7 separate regions of the Homo sapiens genome follow, and all the other regions are linked to region 6. Evidence: promoter capture Hi-C in 16 types of primary human blood cells and fetal thymus (Javierre and others, 2016). All regions are on one chromosome and are shown on one strand. The core of a region is centred on a gene start or on the middle of the fragment in contact, and the rest is flanking DNA. Distances in the headings are between cores, read along the strand shown.

What was found. The method cuts DNA at HindIII sites, captures the fragments that hold promoters and counts their contacts. A CHiCAGO score of 5 or more calls a contact.
Region 1: a fragment that was not itself captured here is called in contact with the fragment with the promoter of PDLIM5 in region 6 in 1 of 17 cell types (total CD4 T cells); the score reaches 5.9 in total CD4 T cells.
Region 2: the fragment with the promoter of AFF1 here is called in contact with the fragment with the promoter of PDLIM5 in region 6 in 1 of 17 cell types (neutrophils); the score reaches 5.3 in neutrophils.
Region 3: a contact is called between the fragment with the promoter of DNAJB14 here and the fragment with the promoter of PDLIM5 in region 6, in 8 of 17 cell types (non-activated CD4 T cells, activated CD4 T cells, fetal thymus and 5 more). The highest score is 18.3, in non-activated CD4 T cells.
Region 4: a contact is called between the fragment with the promoter of PPP3CA here and the fragment with the promoter of PDLIM5 in region 6, in 1 of 17 cell types (non-activated CD4 T cells). The highest score is 11.8, in non-activated CD4 T cells.
Region 5: the fragment with the promoter of DAPP1 here is called in contact with the fragment with the promoter of PDLIM5 in region 6 in 8 of 17 cell types (activated CD4 T cells, non-activated CD4 T cells, total CD4 T cells and 5 more); the score reaches 12.5 in activated CD4 T cells.
Region 7: a fragment that was not itself captured here is called in contact with the fragment with the promoter of PDLIM5 in region 6 in 1 of 17 cell types (non-activated CD4 T cells); the score reaches 7.0 in non-activated CD4 T cells.

What each region holds. Positions count from the first base shown.
Region 1 is chr4:99,895,173-99,897,872 of GRCh38, reverse strand. It overlaps DNAJB14 (DnaJ heat shock protein family (Hsp40) member B14), which reads left to right. Exons shown (of 8, transcript NM_001031723.4): 8 at 1-1,625. Among named protein-coding and RNA genes, the nearest start is that of LAMTOR3, 2.1 kb to the right of the region's middle. The HindIII fragment of the contact is 2,445 bases long and covers 53-2,497 here.
Region 2 is chr4:86,933,629-86,936,328 of GRCh38, reverse strand. AFF1 (ALF transcription elongation factor 1) reads right to left here and starts at 1,318. Exons shown (of 21, transcript NM_001166693.3): 1 at 1,089-1,318. It overlaps AFF1-AS1 (AFF1 antisense RNA 1), which reads left to right and starts at 1,479. Exons shown (of 3, transcript NR_038841.1): 1 at 1,479-1,842. It also overlaps a transcript of C4orf36 not described here. RefSeq lists enhancers at 1-3, 1-400, 401-942 and silencers at 255-393, 864-1,613. The HindIII fragment of the contact is 7,488 bases long and covers 1-2,700 here.
Region 3 is chr4:99,945,267-99,947,966 of GRCh38, reverse strand. It overlaps DNAJB14 (DnaJ heat shock protein family (Hsp40) member B14), which reads left to right and starts at 1,349. Exons shown (of 8, transcript NM_001031723.4): 1 at 1,349-1,528. The coding sequence starts at 1,396. RefSeq lists a silencer at 1,086-1,745 and an enhancer at 1,916-1,965. The HindIII fragment of the contact is 11,087 bases long and covers 1-2,700 here.
Region 4 is chr4:101,346,076-101,348,775 of GRCh38, reverse strand. It overlaps PPP3CA (protein phosphatase 3 catalytic subunit alpha), which reads left to right and starts at 1,250. Exons shown (of 14, transcript NM_000944.5): 1 at 1,250-2,037. The coding sequence starts at 1,980. PPP3CA-DT (PPP3CA divergent transcript) reads right to left here and starts at 999. Exons shown (of 2, transcript NR_033874.1): 1 at 767-999; 2 at 1-452. RefSeq lists silencers at 1,015-1,624, 2,095-2,454, 2,475-2,700. The HindIII fragment of the contact is 5,765 bases long and covers 1-2,700 here.
Region 5 is chr4:99,815,526-99,818,225 of GRCh38, reverse strand. It overlaps DAPP1 (dual adaptor of phosphotyrosine and 3-phosphoinositides 1), which reads right to left and starts at 1,399. Exons shown (of 9, transcript NM_014395.3): 1 at 1,212-1,399. The coding sequence starts at 1,312. The HindIII fragment of the contact is 961 bases long and covers 795-1,755 here.
Region 6 is chr4:94,450,658-94,453,357 of GRCh38, reverse strand. It overlaps PDLIM5 (PDZ and LIM domain 5), which reads right to left and starts at 1,416. Exons shown (of 13, transcript NM_006457.5): 1 at 1,363-1,416. RefSeq lists silencers at 917-1,176, 1,347-1,766. The HindIII fragment of the contact is 3,776 bases long and covers 267-2,700 here.
Region 7 is chr4:99,965,618-99,968,317 of GRCh38, reverse strand. The region is part of intron 1 of H2AZ1-DT (H2AZ1 divergent transcript); the gene reads right to left. Among named protein-coding and RNA genes, the nearest start is that of H2AZ1-DT, 16 kb to the right of the region's middle. The HindIII fragment of the contact is 2,031 bases long and covers 416-2,446 here.

The sequences.
Region 1 (2,700 bases), core at 26-2,525, 5.4 Mb before region 6:
AAATGGTTAAGAAGAGAATTTGTACATTTCTTGAGCTTCCCCATGTGAAGCTTGGGTTCAGTACTATCCTATTACTATCCATCTTCATAATGAGTGAAGCAAACTGAAAGGGAATTCATAATCTTTTTTCTTATCTGAACAGAAAAACTAATGAAAATCAACAATAAATCTTTATTTTAATTTTCATTCAACAGCTGAAAAACCATGTCTGTTGACCACATTGGACCATTGCCTAGTTAAAATCCATAAAATTCCCTATAAACCAATGAAAAGAAACTTGTCTGGCAATAATTTCCAACATTTTAAATTCTAATTTTTAGTTACAAAGAAAAAGGATAGAATGAGGCTTTTCAAGGAATTCTTGCTCATCCCTTCAATTATTTGGCAGGTAAAACAGTCCTAGAATTCAGCTTCCTTTTTGGTTTTATTACTATTAAATAGATACTTTCATATAAATGGAAACACTTTTCCTCAAAACATTAATTCAAAACATACTCCTTATATTAAGGATTATAGCACCATATTTTTTGTATATTCCCTATGTGTAACTTTTTCCTGTTGGTATGTGATATTTTTCATTTAATATGACTATCTGCTGGTGTTGGGGCCAATAGATTTGTGAATATTCTGTGGATGTGTCTATGTATAGGTGTATATATATATATATATATTTTTTTTTTTTTTTCCCAGCTAATTACCTCAAATGTGTGATTGTTTAATATATACCACACTATGTTTGCACAGAGCAGGGCTTCCATTAGCAGTGGATATTTTTATGTCTGACTTTGAAAATCAGTCAACACAATTTCATTGGTGTGAATTATTTGTTGCTCTTTTTCATATTTTAATGGAGAGATTCCTATTATAAGGCCCATGCTTCAAACATAATTATATCTTTCTATATCCAGCCATCTGGAAATACATAGGGGTAAGAAGTATTTCTTGAAATGTCCTTGTTTAGTAAGTTAGTAAAAACTGGGATGACTAGTTGCCAAGATGTCTTGTAACTGCATAGCAGATGACACCTGGCATGGCAAGTCTCATTCACTTCAGCACAACACTCTGTACATTTCAGTCTGATATTCTACTTTGCCATTTAAGGACACCATTAAAATCATAGAGATTTTCAGTGACATTGGAGTATTGTAATTATTACTTTCAAAAAATTATTTTTAATAGGATGATTAAACCAATGAGAAGAAACACACATAAATGATATTTTGCAGTTTATCTGTATTAAGAAATGCTTCTTGCCAATTTCTAGTTTTAGTTTTTGGATTGCTACATAAGACTTTCTTTCCATTTACTTTATGTGTTTTTAAAAGCTGCAGGTAATTTTTAAGGTTTGATGGAATTATAATGGAAGCCTTGTATAAGTTAAATGAAATTGGTAAAGGAGAGCTTACTTTGTCTATAATGCATTCAGGATTAAAAATTAGATTTCAAAATGAAATGTCTGATTTGTAAAATATTTAATGTTATATCAGACTTACATAAAATTTTCTGTGAGAACTCAAATGCATTTGATTTTTAATGAATGTTCTGAATGAAATATGAATTTTTGTCTTTCAGTCTCTGTAGTTTATCTCAATATATTAATAAAAAGGTCTGTTCTCACTGTAAAATGTTTGTTTTTATCATGTTTTATACTCAATATGGCCACTCTTTCATTCATTCAACTATTCAACAAGTATGTCAATGCTTGCTATATCCCAGGCAGTGAGCTGGGTGCTGGGAATTAATCACTGAATAAGAAAGACAAAAACCTTAAAGAGTTTACATCTAGCAAAGAAAATAAATATCAAGTAAATAATTATAATTATGATAAATTCTACAAAGAAAATTACAGGGTACAATGAAAGCATTTATCTAGAAGACCTAAACTATTCAGTGAGGGTCAGGGAAGGCTTCTCTGAGAGTGAGTTTAAGCCAAAATGCAAAAGATGAGATTAGTAGGATTAAGGTATGCTAGAGAAATATCTCAGGCAGAACGTGCTAAGTTGGTAAAGTGATAAAAATCTTTATGGAAGTGAAAACAAACTTGTATGATCATAGCATAAGGAATCCAGGGTAGGTGAGAGAATTAAGATAGGGGCCAGATCCCCATAAGAATGATATATAAACCATGATGCTGATATTGAACTTTATCCTAAGTCAATAAACTTGATTTTCAAGGAAGGAGTTAAATGATGTGATTTGGGTCTTTAGAACATCATTTTTGTTGCTGTGTGGAGACTGGAGGGCAAAAGAGAATGTAAGAAGAATAGGAGGTTGTTGTCAAAAGAGAGATGATCATGGCTTGGAGTAGGGTAGGAATATAGATAGGTGAATAGTTTTCAAAGATAGGAGGTAGAATCAACAGAACTCTGATTAGATTTGTGACATATGGAAGCAGCAATTGAAAACCAGGCTAAAGTTTTCTGAAAATTTGGCTATGAAAGGGAGTAGAGGAAAAACAGTGTGGTAGCTGAAAGAGGATGCGATTTCTAAAGAAGCTTTTCTTTTGAGGGTCTCGCTCTGTCACACAAGCTGGAGTTCAGTGGGGCGATCACCACTCGATGCAGCCTCAAACCCTGGGCTCAAGGGATCCTCCTGCCTCAGCCTCCCGAGTACCTGGTGCACGCCACGTTCGGATAATTCTTAATTATTATTATTATTTGTAGAGATGGGGTCCTATCTTGCCAGGCTGCTGTGGAACTC
Region 2 (2,700 bases), core at 69-2,568, 7.5 Mb after region 6:
ATTTACAAGTTTGCACTGAAGGTTTTAAATCAGTCTGATTTCCCCGTGGTGAGTCACACCCCGCAACGTGCACCAAGGGGGAGGGTGTTTAAAATTATCTCCGGCTCCACCCTTAAAACAAATCACTTGGCTGCAAGGCCTTTCCCCCTAACAGAGACTGGTTCAAGGGAGATTCGGACACATCTCCACCTCCAAAGCCAAGTGCCTTCCCGGGATGATCTGCATAACAATTTGCGGGTGCTGGTGGTGGAGAAGCTCCGGGAAGAGAAAACTAGCCGGACGGTATCGAACCGCCCGCAGGCCCGTCGCAGCTCCATTAATGCAACTACCATTACACTAAGGTAACGTGTGATTCACACTCTCCACCTTCTCTCCCCTCTCATTCGCTGGCTCCGGCGCTCGCACCGTCGGAGGGTGGGGTTGCGACGGCCACAGAGGATGGGACACCCGAGGGAAAAAAGCATTATCAAGAGAAATTAACCAGTCCCATACTAAAGACGCCTCTCCCTCTGTCCCTGAAGTTAAGTCTCAGAAGGTGGCTCCAACTCCTCCCCGGAGGCTACGGACCACCGACACACGCCTCCCTCCTGCTCTCAGCGAGACGCGGCGGGAAGCCCTCATCTCTCTCCACGACAGGCACAGGGAAGGGTCCCGGGGTGCAGGAGAGAAGAACCCCACTTTTCCCCGCCCCCTCCCCCCGAGAAACTTCTGGGACTCATTACGCAACTCAAGTAGCAGGTCCCAACAACGGGACAGCTCTCCGCAAAACGCGGGGTGCACAGGCAAACGTCTGACTTGGGGGCTGCGCGTGAGGGAGGAGCATGGGTCTCTTCCCATGTCCCCGTCCCCTGTTTTTCTACGCGCTACCTGCCGCGGGATCGCAAGTAGGGCGGTGAGAGCTCTGAGCCCTAGCCCGTTCTCCCCGAGGGCTCCCACCGGAAAAGTGGGAACGCCAGCGACTTGAGTCAGCGTGCTGGGAAGCCGGCAGAGAGGCGGGGAGAGCCTCGGCTTCCGAGAAGTCCGCGGCGGCGGCGTCGGGGGCCGGGCGGATCGACCCCCAGCCCTGGGTGGCGCAGGGCTGCGCTCACCTTCCAGACCCTTCCGTCCTCTAGTCCCGGGTCGGGCGCCCTCGTCACCTCCGCCCTCCCCTGACCTGTTGCGGTGGGAAAGGGCGCAAGTGCGGACGACGCAGGGGAGCGCCTCCTCCCGGGGCTCGGCTGCGGAACCGCGGAGGCAAAGGTGCAGCTGCGGCCGCAACGCGCGCAGGCGGCGGCCGAGTGCGCAGGGGCCGCGCGCGCCCGTCGCTCGCTAGCTGGCTGGCAAGCTCAGCACGCCGGCTGCCCGGGACGCCCCGAGGCCACGCCCTCCGCGCGAGGCCCCGCCCCCACCCCCACCTCCCGAGCTGCGGTACCGGGTTCCGCCCCGGCCCGCGCCCTCTAGCTGGCGCCACCCAAGCGGCAAGGGACGTCGCGGCCCTCCCGGGATTGGTGGGAGGATCGTGGGGGAGCGGCAGCTCAGGACGGAATACGGCAATGACCGCCCCGGTCGCGAGGGTGACCCTGCCCCGGGCTGCTGTGGGGGCGCAAGAACCCTTTCACTTTACGGCGAGATTAAGCTCAGGGTCAAGTTCTGAGCAAAAAGTGTCAAGGAGCCTTTTTGCAACCTCCTATAATATTGAAACAGATTCTGTGCCCTTTAAAGGAGATAATAACTAACATCTGGGGAGCGCTTTACAATTTAGAAAAGGCCTTTCACACACAGGCCTGTTTCATCTTCACAACAATCTTATAAAACAGATATATTGTTCCCATTTCCCAAATAATGAAACGGAAGCGCCGAAAAGTAAGTATTGTGCTCAATGTCACAGGCTACTAAGTGGCATGGGAAACCAGGTCTCCTGAATCTAGCCTCCGGGTTTCTGCTCTCCACCAGCCCAACCTCAGAAAATTCTAATAGGTGCAGGGGGCTTTGGCAAATAGACCCATGGGAAGAAGGGGAAACTTATGTCTAGTTAAGTCGCTGCCCGATTCCTGCTGTAAACATACCAAGGAAAGCAACAGGCTGTCTTCATTGTGTTGTCGCACCTTCCTTCCTGAAAGGGACGCAGAAAGATTACATCAAATGGCCCAGATGAGATTTCGCCGACAGTATTTTATGGTTTAAAATGGGTGAAATTATTTGGATGAAGAAAAGCGCCTTACTTAAATTTAATATGATGTGTAATGTAAATTGGTATAATGTGTGAAAATAAGCCCCTCCCTGCCTTCTCTGCCTTTTCTCTTTTTAATTTTGTTTGTCTCTACTGCTCTGCTCAACTCTTTTATTGTCCACATAATTGAAAACCTAATTGATGGATATTTGCATTTCCAAATTAAACCTTTGGCTACTTGACTTAATTTCCCATGGATTGTTTTCCAAAATATAACTCTTCGCCCTACTCCATATCCTCCCATCGGGAGATTGGTTTACCTAGACAGCTAAAATAATTAAGGTGTCCCTGATGAAACCTGGTGGTGTATCTATCTAAGATGAAAGTTCTGGTCATCCCTGAGCAGGATGGGACAGGAGTCATCTCTTACAAAGTGTTTGTACACCTTTTAAAGGTTTCTAACAGAGACTGATCTCTATTCTAATCAATAACAAGTATTTTAACGTTTTTGCTATATAATGAATACATTTCATTGTGAAATATATATTAGC
Region 3 (2,700 bases), core at 100-2,599, 5.5 Mb before region 6:
AGATAGCCCAAGTATATTTTTTTAATGTTATATGAGCTACTAAAGTTTTAATTTAAAAAGTTGGCAGGAGCTGGAGTGGGATTGTCAGTTTCTTAGGCTAAGTGTGACCATTTCAGTTTGTACATTGGCTTCGCTTGCTGTGTGACAGCACTGCACTAGTATGCTGTTAGCATGGTGGACTTGGGGAGGGAGAGAATAGGTAGGAATGTCCTGTATATCCACAGAATGAACTCCGAATTTAAACTTTAAAGATAATAGTGCTACGTGCCAGGCCCTGCTTTGAAGTCTGAAGTTGTTAAGTACTCAGTAACATCATTGGGGATATACTATCTCCATTTTATCGAAGAGAAGCAGGGTTTCTTATTTGAAAGTACCGAGTTATGGTAGTTAGCAGAATTAACAGCTTGGCTCACAGCATTATGTAAAAATTGTTACCTTGTGGTTGGGTTGAGCAGGTCATTTTGACAGTTTGTCATGTTTTTTTTTAAAAAATTTGCACATAGCAAACATTCCCCCCACCCCCACCGCGAAGACTAACAAGACACGGTACTTCCAAGTGGTAATGTTATCCAAATGGGACGGAAAAGGTGAAATCAAAAGTTTGCTTTCGTTAGGGCAGCCCCTGAGGGGCTGATTCCTGCCTTGTTTTGGCTACACAGGATTAAGGTCGATCTGCACCACTCGTTGCAAGCTACAAATTAAACTGCTTTGTACTTTGGATAGCCAGACATCCGGGTCAGAAAAAATGTAGCTGAAATAAGGCTGCCATACAAGCCCTAAGATTAGGTTCAAACGACGCTCTAACGTGTCCCGGAAGTGCTGAGACTGGACTGACACCTTGGTCCTCACCTGACCGCATCCTCCCTCGCTTGAGGGGCCCAGAGGCGGAACCTCCAAGTCCTGGCAATTTTACTGAAAACGAGTGTCCCCTTCCCGGACCCTGTCCTCCTGGCCTGAGCTGCGAGGGCCTCGCCTGGAGGTCACAGGGCACGGCGCTACCAATGCCGGCAATCGGGTCCCGGGCGGAACCCCTCCCCGCGATGGGCAGCCCGGCTGCTATCGTCCGCCTCCCGGGCAGGTCCGCTTCGAGCCTGCTGGCGCCGTGCGCGGACCACCGAGTCAGCTCGGACGCCCCGGCCCAGGAGGTTGGTCCTGGGCCGGGACGGATGCGGATCGCGCCCTAGGGGCCCGCGGGGGGCGGGGAGGCCGCCGTGAGGAGGCGGAGCTGCGAGGCCCGCCCGTCCGCCCGGGCCGTCGCAGCCGCTGCCGCGGTCCCCTGCGCTCCTCCCCGCTGCCGCCGCACGCCCCCAGCCGGTCCCGCCTCGCCTCCTCCGCGGCGGCGGCTTCCGCCCTTCTTAGCTGCGCTGCCGGAGGAAACGGAAGAAGGAGCAAGCTATGGAGGGGAACAGGGATGAGGCTGAGAAATGTGTCGAGATCGCCCGGGAGGCCCTGAACGCCGGCAACCGCGAGAAGGCCCAGCGCTTCCTGCAGAAGGCCGAGAAGCTCTACCCACTGCCCTCGGCCCGCGGTGAGACCTCAGCGTCCCTTCTCTTCCTGCCCAATCCCCAGACCACCGCGTAGCCCGCCCCTGCCCCCACCTCGGCCCCTCCTGGAGGCCTGCGGGGCCCCCGGCCTGTCTGAGCCAGCCCCAGCCCCAGGCCCGGTGGGGAGCATCCCGACACACCCCCGCCCTGGCCCCAGCCCCGGCTCCGGGCTGGGGCTCGGGGAATGCTGCGCGAGGTTCCTCTGCACCCGCCTGCCCGCCGGCTCCGCGTTCCGCTGTCCTAAATGTCCGGGTTTCATTCTCCCTGGAGGAGACTTGTCTGGTCCCGTCTTACCACAGTGAGGCTTTATTTGTATCTGTGTTGTTTATGTGGCCCCCTCCCTCCCCATTCTCAGTCCTACATAAGGCCTAGGCCCCTATCGAAGTGAGAGGAATGGTGTACTCTAGTGGCTAATCTCAGATTCCATGTTTCTGAGATCTGTAGAAAACTGTTCCCAAAGCAAACATCGAATACCTGAGATGACATTGCTTTTCCCTGGGAGAGAGTTCCTTTAAAAGAGAAGAGCACACTTTCGGCAAGAATGGTCAAGAGTCAGTAATGATTGCTGAAGAGTATCTGATTTGATAACACCATGATTATCGACGAACCAAATCTCTGAGGAATATGGTACTGGGTTTCCTTTAGTTGAAGTCAGCTTATTTATTTTCCTACTCGATAGGCTTCGGAGTAATAATAGCCAACATTTATTGAGCACAAAGTGCCAATAGTTGTGCCCAACATTTTGCATGGATTATTTCATTTATTCCTCAGAACAATTCTGTGTAGAGGTGCAGGATTCATTTGACCAGGTTTACCCACGTGGAAACAGACTTTCTGATAATTAATGAATGAATTAGCGAATGAATGAAAGTATCTTACCCAAGGTCACACAACAATTAGTAGCAAAGTCAGAATAGTAGCTGAACTTTCAGACTCGAAAAGGCCTTTAACCGCTACACTGTTGCCTTGCCATTAGTATTTCCAGGTTAAGAAGAAAGTTATCGATAGATTCAATTAATTGTAGAAAATTATTAATGAAAATATGGGGCCACTTGTTTTGTTGTCTCTTAAATTTTTTTCTCTACGTCGTTGAAGCCCTGTGCTCTTTGCTTTTCTCTCTATCCTTTCCATTACATTGCCTTCTAACACTATACCC
Region 4 (2,700 bases), core at 1-2,500, 6.9 Mb before region 6:
GGTCACCTTCTGGTAGACGGAGACCCGCTTTTCAGACTCTGTGGCGCAGCAGGCGGGCCAGGAACATTTGGGCCACTATTGCTCTTAGCCCTGCCGCGCCTGACTTTCTCTCCTCTACTTTCCTTCCGACCGTAGGGACAAGTGTGGGGATCCGCTTTGGGCTCCAAGGCCCTGCCCGCACTGGCAGCACCAAGCGGGTGTAGAATGACTGGAAGGAGCAGGGAAGGAAGATGGGTGTCAACTGTCCCGGCCAGTGGCTGCGTGCATGTGTGTGTGAACAGGGAAAAGGCCACCCTCTCCCATGTTTCTCCCGTCTCCTCGGTTCTCCTCGGAGACCCGCAGGGCTGCCCGAGGTAGCTCCGAGTTGCCCTGGGTCGCTGGGGCTTGGTCCGCATCCTCCTCCGCTAGTCCGCTCCCGCGTTCCACAGCGCCCCGCCGCTCGGTGTGCACGCCTGGGTGGGACACAGTAACAGCCCCTAAGCCGCCAACGCAAAAGCAAAAACAACCGTACACCGCATCGCAGTCGTAGCTCTTCTCCGCAAGGTAAGTTGTTTATTCGTCGCCGTTTTGGCGATCCTCCCTGGACAGCTGCGGCAGCGACGGCAGCTGCGCCGCGGGCGCCGAGCTCCCAGCCTCTTCCTTCCTCCGCCCTCTCAGGGCTGCCTCTCACCCCCACCCTCTTCCCTCCTATCCCCGCCTTCTCTCTTCTTGCCCTCTTGTGGGCCACGCACACACCCGGAGACACCCTCTGCACTTGGCTACTCACACTGCGGCTTAACCCAGCCGACAAGGCACGCTTGCCAAAGAGGCGCGGGTGTGTGTGTGCGGGGTCCGCGTTCGGAGGCCAAAGGAGGGTGGCGTGGTAGAGCCCTTCTCCTCCTGGCCGCGACGCCTTGCCCACTCTCCTGCCCTAATCTCGGCCTGCCAGCAAAAGTGACACCTGAGCAGGGACTGGTCCGTAGAGGCGGCAGGCCCGCTGGTCCGGCAGCTGGAAGAAAACAGAGCAAGGGGCGGGGACAATGAGGAGGAGCGGGAGGCGGGACAAGCGGGGAGGCCGCCACCTGGCACTGAGTGATGCGCCCTCTAGCCAATGAACGCGAGGAACTCCGGCGTCGGGGCGGGAGGTCGGGGGCGGGCTCAGTGGGGAGGAGGAGGCTGCAGGCGCGCAAGAGGCGGGGGCCGGGAGGAGGAAGGGGAGGAGGCGGAGGCGGGCGCGGTGTTGGCGGCGGCGGCGGCGGCGGAGGGGGGTAGGTTGTGCCCGGGACTGTGTCTGCCGAGCTCGGCGGCTGTGCCTTGGTGAGTGGAGGAGCGGCGCGGGGAGGCAGAGGCGAGCGCGGGCGATCGCGGCGGCGGGACGTCTCCGGCGGCCGCGGCACCAGCGGCGGCGCTCTGTGTGGAGAAGCAGGGGCAGCGGCAGCAGCAACAGCGGCAGCGGCAGCAGCAGCGGCAGCAGCGGCGGCCGCCTCTCCGCCGCCGGGGACGCCAAGGTGCGGCTGGTGGCACTGACATCGGCGGCCCTGCCTCTCCTCCCTCGCCCCCGGCCTTCCCCATGTGATCGGTCTTAATCCTGGCCGTGTGTGCGCGCGTGGGGCTCCATTCCGCGGTGCTGGGTCTCCGTGCCGGGGTGGGTGCTCGTGTGTGCGCTTCTCCTCCCCATCCCCCTTCCCCCAAGAATAAAAGAAGAACCGGGAGGCGTGCTCAGAAAATAAATAAATAACCACCACACACGCGCAGCCCGGAGCGAGTCGGCGGGGCTGGCGGCAGCGGCGGAGGAGGAGTGAAGGCGGCGGCGGCGGAGGAGGGACGCGCGGAAAAGGCAGCAACTTTAAAGCCAGCTCAGAGCCTAGACCTCCAGCCGAGCGGTTTGCAGCGCGGCGGCGGCGGCGGCGGCGGCGGCGTTGAGTGTCTGGCCCGCCGGTCCGGTCGGGGTGTGCAGTCGGACGGACGAGCAGCGCGTCGCTGTCCTCCGGCAGCTGGAGATGTCCGAGCCCAAGGCAATTGATCCCAAGTTGTCGACGACCGACAGGGTGGTGAAAGGTAAGCGGAGCGCCGCGGTGGCCTGGGTGCACCGTGTGCCGCAGGCGCCAGGGCAGCTTGCCTCGCCTCGCCTTTCCTCCCCTCCCCCGCCCCAGGTTCTCCTCTGTCCGCTCCAGCCGCGGACCTTCTAGGATATTGTGCAACCCGCGAACCCCGCGAACCCCCCGCCCCCGCGGCGCCCTTCCCCCACGCGTCCCACCCAGCCTCACTTGGGGCATTTTTATTGACGGGGGCGTCAGTTGGCAAATGGCTGAGCCGCGGGGAGGTGGCGGCGGGGGTGGCGGTGGTGGGAGGGGGCGCCCGGGGGGTGGTTGCTGGTAGGGTGTAGCTGCTGTGACAGAAATAGGAAGTGGGTGGCTCTGCTCACAGGCTTGCATGGGATCGGGTTTATGGTTTTCTTCTGCAGAGGGAGGGGTGATTGATGGCTTTTTAAAAATTAATACGGCATTTTTATGTGGCCGTGGCTTTCCACCGACTGCCTCACTTGGGCAGGGTTGTCTTGGAGCTCCATTGCAGCAATTCCCTCCGCGCCCCCCTCCCCCTCCCCCTCCCCCTGGAAGGGCCTGCACAGGACTCGCGAGAGAGCGGGAGAGCGTGGGGGGAGCCCGGCGCTTCCTTCCGCGCGGGGCGGGGGCGGGGGCGGTCGCTGGCTGGAGGGTGGCC
Region 5 (2,700 bases), core at 150-2,649, 5.4 Mb before region 6:
CTGGCTTCCTAATAAGGGGAGTTTTCTTTAATGAAAATTCCAGGTGTTTTATCTGATTTGCCAAATGAAAGTAGAGTTCAATTCCGAGACCTCAGTTTTATAATCTAAAGACAGGAATTATTAATAAACTTTTACAGTAATACAACATAAAAAGATACAATCTCTGCAGCCTTAACACAGAGAGATTTCAACTCTATTTTGGTTTTTCTTTGGTTTCGGACATAGCCTGTGGTAGGTTGGATGCCCAGCTTTGCTATGTAATTGATGTGTGACTAGCAAGCAAGTTATTCAAACCTGTTTGGTACTTGTTTTCATCCTTTGTAAGATGAAGATGACAACAGCTCCTATGTCATTGGATTGCTATGAAGAGTTAGAGCTATTTGTCCAGGCAGAAGGTAAAGGTTTTGCCTCTCCTCATGCACAGGTGTCAAAGCCACCTTCATTGGGATATTCCCAGTGCATTAGGCAGTTTCTCTGGGAAATCCCCAATTCCTCTCTTGTGTAATACTTGTTTCTTATTAAATACCCGGATGAGTTGTCATCTGGGTCCCTTCTTAAAGACAGAGCTCCAATGACTCCACCTACCTATGCTTACCTGTTTGAAGCAGAAATTTTATCCTCTTCCTGGATTGTTGGTACTGAAAGGCTCAAAGTTGGCTCTCTGGACATACATACGATATCAAATCTCACAAATGCAGTATCAGGAGAAAGAAATATACAAGCGAGACTGTTGCAGGAACTTCCTCATTCTCTGTCTTTTGAAAAAGTCCCTCTCCCTTACAGTAGGGTAAGCTTTCTGTTTATCTTACCAGAAACACAGTCCTTTTACTGTCCCTGGGTCAGTGCTAGAAACTCTTGAACAGCGCATTTATTCATAAACCAGAGCAACATCAAGGAAGCCAGGCAACATCACCTCTATATCCCAATTCTGTCCCTCTTCTCAAAGAATGTCCAACATTTGATTTTTTTCCCTATTTTCTCAACCAACTTGTTTTCACATCTAGAAAAATAATGCCTGCTTTTCCAATGGAATTAGCCCCAGACAAGAAGATACTTAACAGATACAAATGAATAAAGTGGAAAAAAATAAATGGTTGAGGTGGCAGAGGGCAACAAGGCACTGAAGATAGTCATTAATCAAAGCATGCAGGTGGGAGTGCGGAGTCAATGTCCACCCACTAGGTACTTTGAAAGGAGATCTGCTGCCTTACCCCAAGTCCTGGAGCAGCTCAGCCTCTCCATCGGATCTGCTCCACAGATCTGAGGGATCCTGGGTGCTCATCTTCCCTTCTAGAAGTTCTGCTCTGCCCATTCGCGCCCTTCACAGAGGTAGAGAGAGAGACACAACTGGGCTGCTCCTGACACCTTCTCGCTCTGTGAGACAGCAGCCTGCTATGGCTCTGAGTCTCCAAGGCAAGGAAGTGAAACTTGGTTACTTACTCCTCCCACCAACACCACCACCCTGGCCTGGAGGCACTGGCAGGAGTGTTCTGTCAGTCAGGAAGTATGCAAACTTAGGTAGCTACCTCTGAGGACACCCACACTACATCACGCAACAGGCGGTTGCTATCAAAGGAAATGAAGAGGCAACCACCCCACCTGGGATTGGACAACAGTGCAAACTGCTTGTGTGAGGCCAAACCCTAGCTTCTCCCTAATGCTATCAGCCTCTGGTTTGTAGTGGAGGATGCGTGCACTCTTTTACCCCATCTTCTTTCTGTCTTACACACCAACACAGGGAACACTGAGGAAGCTTCTCTATCAGGAACACCTTTAGAGTGGATAGAAAAAGCAGAAGCAAACCACAAATTCGACCCTGAAGTTTGATGTTTTAGCACTTTTGCAATATTTCTGCTTGTTTACCCAGACCTTCTAATATATCCTCAATGCTCCGAATAGGGATGATTCAGAGACAATTATTGTTTCCTCCACAGAAAAAGAATTAGGAGAGGAGAAGGTAGGAAAAAGTTACAAGGGGCCATTCTGGTGCCCACCTAATGGGGCATATTAGAACTCCTGGAGTCTTTTTTTTTTTTTTTTTTTGAGACAGTCTCGCTCTGTCACTCAGTCTGGAGTGTAATGGCATGACCTGAGATCACTGCAACCTCCACCTCCCAGGGTTCAAGTGATTCTTCTGCCTCAGCCTCCCAAGTAGCTGGTATTACAGGCACCCGTCATCATGCTCTGCTAATTTTTGTGTTTTTATAGAGACAGGGTTTCACCCTCAGGTGATACACTCACCTCGGCCTCCCAAAGTGCTGGGCTTATAGGCATGAGCCACTGCACCTGGCCTGAACTCCTAGAGTCTTTGAGTGCCACTTCCTTCATGGGCTTACTCACACCTGCATGGCTTTGTGCCCAGATTCATATGTAGAGCAGGATTCTATCTGCCTGGAATGCTAAAGGTAAATTGCAGTGACTGAATCCTTGGGAAGTGGAACAAAGTGCAGTATCAAATGAGTCAAGGACATATGTTGCTTCCTGCCTTTTCTATGTACCTACAGGTCTCTCTCTCCCTCTCCCTTTCTCTCTCTCTCTTCCTATCTCTACTCCCTGACTCATTCAGCACTCACCACAGTGCTCTGTAACTTGTTCTCACAGTGTGGCCTGAGGACTAAACAGCACAGCAGAACTGTTCCTAAAGGACTAGATGATTGCAAAAGGCTGCTGTGCAATGGTTCTATCCTTCATCTTCCTCCC
Region 6 (2,700 bases), core at 167-2,666:
AGATGCTTCTTCTGCTAGCTTCATTTGGAATTCATCTGCCTTAAAACAGTCTCTGCCCCAAGCAATGGCAATATTTTTATTGGCCTTTCCAAGACTCCTCCATCTGGTTATTAGTGCCCAAGCCCTTCCTCAAATACCAAGCAGGCAGGAAATAGCAGCATACTCTTTCAAACACGTCGAAAAGGTTGGAATTTCTGTAGAGTTATGGATTTTCTTTTAGGGAAAGTCTAAACAATGTCTTTGCTCTAGTACTAGGGAAGGAAGCTTGGTATTTCCCACACTTGTATCTCAGCTTCATTAGTGGGTGAGAGGGGAGAAAGGAGAACTCAAGATGAACTACACAGAGTGACAAAAAAAAAGGCCTGAAATTAAAGAGAAATATCTTGAGATTCTCTTTCCCCGCAATGGAGAGAGAATGTAGGTAGAGCTGAAGAACTAAAGCCACAGGCACAGGATGAAAGCAGCCGACAGGACAGTTTTCCAGGAGGGATTCGCGCCTAGCCTTGTTGGCCAAATAAGGCTACCGAACGGGCCGTTTCCGTGGCAGGCGGGTTCAGACGTCCTCCCCGTCAGGAAGGCGGACTTGGGATAGGATCTGGCGATCACACCCTAAATCTGCCCTGCCCAGCGCCGCCACGAATTTTCCTTCCAAGCTCTGCCCTGTCCACACGCCCTTCCTTTTTCCACTTATTGTAAAACGCACCGAAGGCACAGTCTTACAAAAGCCCCAACAAGTACTCAAGTGTTAACAAATCTCGTGTTCATGACAAATGTGTTTCTTAAACGAGCTTTATTTCTGGACGCGCAGAAGTTTTCCCCAAACAGGTTACACAAAACTGTAAATATCTGGGGGAGAAATAAATGCTTCTCAGTAGCCTGGGAGCAAAGAAAAACTAACGCGCCTTTTCCTTTGAGTCCCGCTTCCTACCCTCCAAGAGACTGGCGCAGGACTGGGCACTCAGACACCACACCACGGTGGTGCCGGGCGACGCCGGCAGCCGGGTGGGTGGGAGCGGCAGTGCCCGTCCCTGCCGGCCCTCGCCACCTCCGGGCGCCCTCCCGCGTCCCCGTCTCCGCTACGCTGGTCCCGGTCGGCCCGGGCTGCGGGGACCCCAGGGCTCGCCCTCTGGCCTCATGCGGACTCCAGCGCTGCCCTTTTCCGGGCGCTCCTTTTCCCAAGCTGCTCTCCCACCTCCGCCGCTCCGCGCCCAGAAAGCACCTGAGGAGCCATCCCTGCCCGAGGAGCGCCCCCTCCTCGTCCCCAACCGGGCTTCCCTTCTCGCGTTCGGCGCACAGCGGCCGGTTCTTTCCCTTCTCCCACCGGAGATCCGAGAGGCGCATCGCCGGCCGGCCGCCACTCACCTCGGGTCCGGCGCGGCGCGGGGCTGCCTCCGCCTCAGACAAGGGCTGACAAGTGACTCGCGGTGAGGGCGCCGTCCCCACCGCCCGCGGGAACTTCCGCCTCCTGGCTCTCCCTCGCCCCACCCCCGACCCAGGACACGCCCCTCCGCTCCCGGCCACGCCTCTGGGCCAGTCCCAGCCGCGCCGCGCAGGGGCGGGGAAGGTGGCGGCGGCGCCGGGCGCTCGGGCTTGCTGGGGCTGGCTGAAGCAGCTGCGGAAAGACAACTGCGCTACCGAGTTTCGGTGGGAGTAGTCTTAGCGGATTTTGAGCGCTACCTGGCAAAGGTCTAACCCTCCGCTCGTCCGTTTTGTAGTGGGTGCATTTTTCTCTCCAGAAATTTAAATTGGCAAGCAGTTGCTCTGCCTAAAAATAGAAGGGTACTTTGGATAAATCTCTATCTATGCAAGTTCAGCGGTTACTGCCTGCGTTTTTTTTTTTGAAAGAGCTTTACATGCTCTGAAAAGTGCAGACCCAGAAGTTTACCTGTCAGGAAGGTGAAAACCAGTAACCCTAACAGAAGTTAACCCTGTCCATCACACCAGAAGACAGTGATACATAAAAGCGGCCAAAAGTGATTCAACCACTGTATCTTCAGTTTATTTTTCTAAATCCAAATCAATAGTCCACTTTCCAGCCTTCTATAGGGTTGCTTGATACGCCCGAGGAATTTATTCATAAGAAAACGTGAATAATGTTCACTGAACATACGGAAAGTAACTAGACTGTTACACTGTGAATTGGCTTATAAAACGTGAAAAGGACAATTCTTAACCAAGGAGCATATAAAGCAAGGATGAACTTCATGAGGTCCGTGAGCTCCCCGGCCCCCAGAAGTGCAAGCAAAATTCCAAAGGCGAAGATCCAAAGCTGCTCTTTCCCTAACGGTAGCCACTGGCCACATGTGGCTATCGAACAGTTGAAATGTGGCTACTGTAACTGAGACCATGAATTTTTTGTTTTACGTAATTTTAAATAATTTAACATTTAAAACTGAAGCAGGATAACATTTCTTTACTTTTTTTTTCTTTGAGACGGATTCTTGCTCTGTCTCCCAGGCTGGGATCAGTGGTGCAATCTCGGCTCACTGCAACCTCCACCTCCCGGGTTCAAGCGATTCCCCTGCCTCAGCCTCCTGAGTAGCTGGGATTACAGGCGTGCGCCACCACGCCCGGCTAATTTTTTGTATTTTTAGTAGAGATGGGGTTTCACCATGTTGGCCAGCCTGATCTCGAACTCCTGACCTCAGGTGACCAACCCGCCTCGGCCCCGCAAAGTGCTGGGATTACGGGCATGAGCCA
Region 7 (2,700 bases), core at 182-2,681, 5.5 Mb before region 6:
GGATTCTGATATGCACCAAATTTTGAGAAATGCCAGTTAATAATTTTTGAGGATACAGAAGATACTAGGCACCAACTAGTTGCATAGATCCAGACTGCTACGTAGGAAAAATAAAATAAAAGTCATTTCTTGCTTTCAAGGCACTGTAAATCTGTAGGCTATTCAAAAATCTAAAATCATTCCAGAAAATATGAAAGTAATTTAGGAGCATTAGCAATTTAAAGTATATTAAAGAAAGCAGGGTACAAACCATATTCAATGATGCAGAATCAAGGGGAATAAGAGATCAATTTTGGAGATGGTGGCTCAGGGAATGTTCACTAAAGGAGAGTATTGAGCCATATTTTGAAGAAGTAAAGTGCAAAAATTGACAGCTATCTGAAGCACATTTCAGATAGAGGAAGCAACAAAAGCTTTGTAAACAAAAGCAGGTGATCAGGGAAACTATGGAGAAAACACATTGCTGAGCAACTGAAGGATAGGAGTGGGAGAGAGAATTTTCACTCTATACCACTTTTTTTAGCCTTTTAAATGTTGAAACATTGACAAGTTTAGCCTTTTCAAGAATCAATCAATTAATAAATAATGGCTTTTTAAATGGGAAAAGAATCATCTAGATTGAGACCATTAAAAAATGAAAAAATGAGAGTAAAGAGATACAGATGAGCCCATTATAAAAGTATTGAAAGTACTAGCAGTGCCCACAGGAATATAATCTATTTTCTCTACCATTCACCTGAAAAGACAGAATAACATTTTATCTAAATAAGACCTAACATCACCGTAGTGAAATGATCCTTAGCAGGCACAAAGTAAAAAACCAATGTGGGCCAGGCACAGTGGCTAACACCTGTAATCCCGACACTTTGGGATGCTGAGGCAGGTGGATTACTTGAGGTCAGGAGTTCGAGACCAGCCTGACCAACATGGTAAGAGCCCCATCTCTACTAAAAATACAATATTAGCCGAGCATGATGGTGCATGCCTGTATTCCCAGCTCCTTGGGAGGCTGAGGCAGGAGAATAGCTTGAACCTGAGAGGTAGAGGTTGCAGTGAGCCGAGATCGCGCCACTGCACTCCAGCCTGGACAAGAAGATCGAAACTCTGTCTCAAAACAAACAAACAAACAACAACAACAATGAAAAACAATGTGGAACTCTATCCTTGTGTGTCTAATTCTCCCACTGACAGAAATACTACAGCCAGACCAAATGTGTTTCTTGTTGCTGTTTATTAGGAGAAATTTTTGCTTTTGTTTTCAAAGTACTTTGTAGCCCTTAAGCCATTAATTACTTTAAAGAGATATTCATATTCTTTCATTTGGCCTCTTTTTCTAAAGAAAGGATAAGGAAAAAAGGTTATGTTTTCTTCAGTTCTCTCTTCATGACTCACAATTATGTTGTAAGAACAACTTTTCATTAACGCAGGATGTTTACGTGCCTTAAACAATTTCCAGAAAAGCTGAGTTCAAGTGCATAACAACACTGAATATTGGCTGCAAATTGAATTATAAATTACTCAGAACCATCTAAGTCACAGTTAATGTTGCCTGTGGCTTCTGAGTATAGTTCTCAATTTATCTGTAAGTTTTTGAAGAGGCGAAATTGTATTAGGTGCTGAAATTAAAACAAACAAACTTGATATATTAAAGATAGGGTATAAAACAGTAAAACTGGGGTGATTTTCTGCATTATAAAATTATTTCTTTACTCTGGTATCTTTTTAATGGAAATTTTCAGTGTAGTTAACTACACCTGAAGAGACAGAATAATAGTTTTTCTAAGTAAGACCTAATATCACTGTAGTAAAATGATCCTTAGCAGGAACAAAGTCAAAAACCAAAGTGGAACTCTATCCTTGTTGAGCAGATCTGATTCTCCTACCGATGGAAATATGTAAAGGCAGACCAAATGTGTTTCTTATTGCTGTTTATTAGGATAAATTTTGTAAATTATTTTTAATTCTTTTTAAAAATCAGTGTAAATAATTTTTCACTTTTGTAAAATGAAAATAGTCATGAAATATTGCCAGCATTCATTCTTCATGCTAATAATATTTTATCTTGGTATGATGCATTACAGTTAAAAAAGCACATGACTTAGCTCATGCAGTCTTCACAATAGTCCCATTCTGCCCAAGAGAAGTGGAATGCTCACATAGGTTGATTAGACCAACGTCTCTTAGCTGGGAAGCATAAATGTCAAATCCAGTTTGTTCTGAATTCAATTTTCCTCTTTTTTTCCACTGCTGCATCTTTGCCTCTTACCGTTTGTGTTTCATGTTCAAGTTCTCTGCATGTTATTTTAGTATAGCCCAACAAAACAAAATTTACAGTCAGAATATTTATATATGTAGATAAACTTAGCTGTTAAAGACAGCTCAGCACAACTTCAAACAATAAAGTATCGTTTATGTGGTGAAACCAGAGTGGCTAAGAAGCGAAGCTTGGTTTGTTTAAACAGGATATTGGGGTTGGTTTTTTTTTTTTTTAATTTAAGGGTAAAAACTATGATATGAAAAGGTCCCAAACAACGGCAAACTGATGACCACAAAGCAAAGTTTACCATTTTTTTCTTCCTACACAGAGACAGCATCTGCAGCAATTTCATTACCAATTTTTTCTTTTTGAACTCTACTGAAAATTTCAAATAAGTACTTAATTTCAATAATTATAAATATTTTGCCATATTGTTTATGCCT